Linked DNA regions of Homo sapiens: region 2 is linked to region 1. Evidence: promoter capture Hi-C in 16 types of primary human blood cells and fetal thymus (Javierre and others, 2016). All regions are on one chromosome and are shown on one strand. Each heading gives the region's core, a stretch centred on a gene start or on the middle of the fragment in contact. The rest is flanking DNA. Distances are from core to core; before and after follow the strand shown.

Region 1 (2,700 bases), core at 96-2,595:
AGGCCGAGGCTGCTAAACTGTTCCAGATGACAAGCAGGCTCTCCCACGTCTCCACGAACTGATCAGATACCAGGGCCTCGCTTCTTTGTGAGCCTCAGCTCCCTCCTTTCTGGGGAACCCTACTCGATCCCCAACAGCCGCTGGCCTCCAGCTGCCACAAACGAGATCCAGACTCATTACAGGGAATTCGTATTTCCCCCCCTCAAATAAAACACACACACACACACACACACACAGAGTCTCCGGGGTCCAGCCGGATCACACAGCTAAAGTTTCCGGAACTTGAATCGTAAAACCACAATCAGAAGTTGTTTGGAAATACTCGCCGCAAAGCAATCTGTCCTTTGCTTTAAAAAATAAAAAATAAAAAAAACTTTGCCCTGCATAAAGGCAGACAGTAAAGAGAGACACAAATCTAACTTGGGCAGAGGGTGTGTTCCTCTTTGTCACCCGCCGGGAACCCTCGCGCCGCGCGTGGGCGAGCGGCGGGCACCCGGCGGCATCCGCGCCAGCGGCCACCTCCCCGGCCCGCAACCGGCCTCAGGGGCCGAGATTGCGGCCCGAGGTCCGGAAGCGGCGTCCAGCGCTGTCAGCGGGCGGGTAGGACGGAAGGAAACGGGGGAAGGGCGCCGGGGTCGGGGGAGGCGAGCGGGGACCGGCGCGGAGCCCCGCAGCCCGACGTCGGCGGAGGTGAGGGGAGAGGGGCGCAGGGGGCAGCCCGGAGCCCCGAGGCCCCCGAGCTCCTGCGATGGTGGCCGGGGCTGCCCGGGCCCGACCCGCCGCCCGACTGCGCAGGGCAGGACCTCGGGGACCACGCGCCCACCTTCGCCCGCAGCCGCGGCCGTGCGCTGCGGGAGCCTGGACTCGCACAAGTTGCCGCCCGCGGCCCGGACCCCGCCGGCCCCCGCCCTCCCGCCGCGGTCATTGTTCACCGCGCGCCTCCTACCTCCACAGCGCCGGCGGCTGCGGCGGCTCCCTCTCCCGGCTCGGGCTCCGGGATCGGCGGCTCCCAAGCCCCCGGCGGCCGAGGGCGCGGCGGCGCCGGCTATTAATACCCGCGGGCGGCGGCGGCGCGGGCGCGCGAGCAGGGCTGGCGGTGGCCGGCTGAGGTCCGAGCCATCAAAGGTGGCGCGGGGCGGAGGGGAGGGCGGAGCAGGCGGGGTGGGTGGGGAGCGGGCTCCGGGTCGCCATGGCCGCCTCGACGCCGGGGCCAGCGCTACTCGCGCAGGGAGGAGCGGCGCAAAGCGGGCAGCGGCCGCGTCCCCGCCCCGCGCCCCAGCCGAGCGCCCGCACCGCTGCGCCCGCGCCGGACCCGCCGCCTCTGAGGCCGGCGAGCGGGAAGTGCAGTGGCCACCGCCCCTCCCCGGGTCTGGGCCGGCCCCTCGGCGGGGGGAGGCGGGCGCCGCGCAGCCCGAGCAGCGGGGACGCGGGAGAGCCACAGCCCCCTCCAGCGTCCGGGCCCGCGCCCTGCGCCCGCCCCGCCCCGCTCCGCTCCGCCCGGGCAGGTGCGCCCAGGGGCCTCCCGAGCCCAGCGCGCCGCCGGGGATCTGCGCCTCTCTTGGGCTTCCGGCCAGGGCCGGGCTCCGCGCGGCGCTACCTAATGCAGCGCGGGGAGCGCCACTGGCGAGACGCGAATCCAGCAGCTGTGGCGAAAAACGAACCGGGGAGAGCGGGAGACGTGTGCACGGCGAAGCCGGGAGCGGCAGGCGGGCGGTCAGGGGCTCGGACTCTGCAGGTCGCTTTTTGAGGTCCTGCCTGGGGCTGCTTCGCCTGCGACGTCGCGCGGGGAGGACAGTCTTCAGGGACCCACCGAGCCCTCCCCTCCCCCGGAGCCACAGGCACGGGCTTCCGGCACCACCCCGGGCTGCGCGGGACTTAAGCTTGGGGGAGCGGCGGCCACCCCGCGCCCGCCCACGTCCTGGCCCAGCGCCCTCCGCCCGAGCGAATCCCATGACAGTTCCCGCCCGCCCAGCCTCGGGGGACAGTGCCCTTGGGGAATGGCGTGGGGGAGGTTAGGAGTGGCTTGCGGTGCTTGAGAGCCTTCGGGGTTTCGGGAACTCTACGGAGCGGGGAGCAAGATTCAGGACCCAGGAGGCAGCGATCTAGGGGCACAGTCACCGTCCCCACCCAGCAGCTGCCGCGTTACCTTCTCTTCCCCCTTCTGAGCCTCCAGTCCCTCTCTCTAAGCGTGGCGGGAAGAGGCCTAGGGCGCAGCAAGTGACGTTCTGCCAGACCCGGGGCTAGCGGATTCCGGCCTTCGGAGGCCACTGGCTCAGAACCGTGGGCCTTTTGCGTCTTACAGGAGTTCCCTGACCTCAGACCGAGAGGGCAGATTTCACGGGAGAGGCCTCAAGTGAACTCACAGCTGGACAGGAGCTGGGCAGAAGTGGAGTGTAGGGACCCTGATAGAAGGGCGGGTTGAGACAAGAACAGGGGTCTTGGAAGTAGGGGGTGCTTGTGGGCAGCTCCTGGGGAGGAGCAGAGATGTAATACTTGCAGATTTGGTGGTCTGTGGTTGAAGAGAAGAAATGGTGGGTTTGAGGCTTTGCTCTGTCAGCCCAACCAGCTGTGTGTCACAGATCAGATTTTTTTCTGCTCGTGATTCTCTAAGTGTGGTTCTCAGACCACGACCACCACCAGCAGCCCCTGGAAACGTCAAGAAATGAACATTCTTGGGCCGCATCCCCGACCTACCTAATG
Region 2 (2,922 bases), core at 317-2,816, 530 kb before region 1:
CTCACCGTTCAGCAGGCTGTACAGGCATGGCACCAACCTCTGCTTGGCTTCTAGCGAGGCCCCTGGAAGCTTACAACCACGGCGGAAGGCAGAGCCGAAGCAGGCCCATCACATGGCAAGAGTGGGAATGAGAGAGAGTGGGGGGATCCCAGACTTTTAAACAACCCGGTCTTATGTGAACTAACGGAGCGACAACTCATCACCAAGGGGATGGCACAAAATCATTCAGGAGGGACCCACCCCCATGACCCAAACACCTCCCACTGGGCCCCACCTCCAGCACTGGGGATCACAGTTAACCTGAGATTTGGAGGGGACACACATCCAAACCATGTCAGGCTCTAAGAGCTTTGTACCTTCTGGCAGTCAGAGGATTGACTAAGCAGCCCTTTGTGCTTGGGGCCATCCTACTCCTAGCACTGAGTCAAGGAAAGCATTTCCCAGCTGGACACGGTGGCCCATGCCTGTAGTCCCAGCGCTTTGGGAGGCCAAGGTGGGCTGATCACCCAAGGCCAGGAGTTCGAGACCAGCCTGGCCAACATGGCAAAACCCCATCTCTACTAAAAATACAAAAATTAGCCAGGCATGGTGGCAGGCACCTGTAATCCCAGATACTCAGGAGGCTGGGGCAAGAGAATCACTTGAACCCAGGAGGTGGAGGTTACAGTGAGCCGAGATCGCCCCACTGCCCTCCAGGCTGGTCAACAAGAGTGAAACTCCATCTCATTAAAAAAAAAAAAAAAAAAAAAGCATTTCCCTTCACAGTTTCCATTTCGTAGGTTTCTCCTACAAAGTTCCCTGTCCCCATCACCACAGGGAAGAGAGGGGAGGCCCAGACCACCTGTCCCAGGGCCCGGTTGACACACATGTCCCTGCTTTGCAGTGGCTGGTAGATGGAACCGAGATCCTGTCCGCCAGCTGGTGCCTTGGGGCAGAGACGGCCTTGCCATCCATGCTGCTCAGCCTGTTTTCGTCTTCAGGAAGGTTGAACTTCAGTAAGTCCGGAGTCTGACTCAGGTCCTTGATTTGATTTACAAACCTGGAAAGGATCTGGAATAAGTCCCACCCAGCTACTAACAGGCACAACTAGTCGTTAGTTGCTAAGGACCTACAGCAGGAGCGAGAGAGTGTGCGTGCGTGCGTGCGTGCGTGGGTGCTTGTGTGTGTGTGCCCATCTTCCCTAATGAGTGTACAGAAAGATGAAACAGATGAGCCCACTAGGGAGGTCCAGGAAGGCACCAAGTCAGTAGCAGAGGGCGGTGGCTCCCAAACCACAGCAGTGACCAACACGGGACATGGAGGTAAATCGGAGTGTGCAGGCTTTCTGTGGTGTGGCCTGGGAGGTGCCTCTGGCAAGTGGAGACGGGCAAATTGCCTGCAGGCGGGAGGGGTCGGGCAGCAGGCAGGTGCTGGCAAGAAGCGGACACAGGGAGAGACCCTGCAGCCTGGGTGAACGCGTGCTTTCGGGAGGGTGGGGCTGCAGCGAGACTGCAGGGCGAGGGTGGAAACACATCATGCTCCTGGTTCTTCCCTTCCTTGAGCTGTGAGCTTGGGCAGGCCGCTGGAGGCGTCAACGTCACCATTTGTAAAATAAAGACAGTGCCCGCTTCCCAGGGTTGGGGTAAGGCCCTTGTGGTGCCAAGAAAGGCCCCTGGGTGAGCCCTTGCCCTGTGCTAGTTGTTCTACCCATGCTTACCGAGCATGCACCAAGGGCAGACACATGCCAGGCAGGTGGGATACCTCCCAGAACAAAAAGAAGCCAGACCCCTGCCTCTGTGCACACTCGCATTCTCGCAGCAGCCGATGAACCATAAGCAACAAATGGGCTGAATAAGGAAATTATGGAAAATGATGTGGTATAGTAGGAGGTGTTGGGTGCCATGGATCTAAAAAAAAAAAAATAGAGCAGAGGGACAGAGGTTGTGACTGAAAAGGATGGTCAGAGGGCGCTTCCTGGGATGGTGGCATGTGAGCAGCCACTTCAACAAGGTGAGGGCAGAGAGTGCCTGGCAGAGGGGCAGCCGTGCAAAGGCCGGAGGCGGGGCATGCCTGGTGTCTTTGAGAGGCCAGCACACAGGATCAGGGGGAGTGAGGGAGAGCCAGAGCCCAGCACACAGGATCAGGGGAGTGAGGGGAGCGAGAGGCCGGCATACAGGATGTGGGGAGGGGGAAGGAGGGAGAGCGAGAGGTCAGCACACAGGATCAGGGGAGTGAGGGGAGCGAGTTGCTGAGGGCGGAGAGAAAGGGTGTGTCTTTCATGTTGGGCAGGCCAGGGTGAAAGCCTGGGCTTTTGAGATGTCTACAGAGGGTTTTGAGCCTAGAAGTCACGTGACTGCTGTGTGGCAGGACCCCTCTAGCTACTGTCTTAAGAATAAAGTGATCTGGGCGTGGTGGCGCGTCTGTAGTCCCAGCCACTTGGGTACTTGGGAGGCTGAGGCAGGTGGATTACTTGGAGCCTAGAAGTTGGAGACCAGCCTGGGAAACATAGGGAGACCGCATCTCTACAAAAAATTTAAACATTAGCCAGGTATGGTGGCACACATCTGTGATCCCAGCTCCTCAGGAAGCTGAGGTAGGAGGATTCCTTGAGCCAAGGAGTTCGGAGCAGTGGTGAGCCACGATCGCACCACTGCACTCCAGCCTGGGCGACAGAGCGAGACTCCGTCTCAAAAAAAAAAAAAAAAAAAAAAAGAATAAACTGAAAGGGGCCAAGTGTCCATGCAGGTTCCCAAGTGACCTTCCAGGAGGGTGGCTCTGGCTAGGTAGGTGGCAGTGTGGTGGTGAGAAGTGGTGGGATTCTGGATATACTTTGGAGGTTGATGGAGCCAACAGGATTCTCTGACAGATGAAATGTGGGAGACAAGAGAAAGATATTTGCTACTTTCAGCATGGCCTGTTCTAAGGGCTTTGAGCATTTTATTC

Evidence for each region. Contacts are between HindIII fragments. The CHiCAGO score rates a contact against its expected background, and 5 or more counts as called.
Region 2: a contact is called between a fragment that was not itself captured here and the fragment with the promoter of FARP1 in region 1, in 1 of 17 cell types (M0 macrophages). The highest score is 5.7, in M0 macrophages.

The regions. Positions count from the first base shown.
Region 1 is chr13:98,141,739-98,144,438 of GRCh38, reverse strand. It overlaps FARP1 (FERM, ARH/RhoGEF and pleckstrin domain protein 1), which reads right to left and starts at 1,345. Exons shown (of 27, transcript NM_005766.4): 1 at 947-1,345. LOC105370328 (a long non-coding RNA gene) reads left to right here and starts at 529. Exons shown (of 3, transcript XR_931670.4): 1 at 529-600. RefSeq lists silencers at 1,295-1,604, 1,845-1,894. The HindIII fragment of the contact is 2,199 bases long and covers 1-1,882 here.
Region 2 is chr13:98,674,567-98,677,488 of GRCh38, reverse strand. No RefSeq gene overlaps it. Among named protein-coding and RNA genes, the nearest start is that of SLC15A1, 77 kb to the left of the region's middle. The HindIII fragment of the contact is 2,989 bases long and covers 72-2,922 here.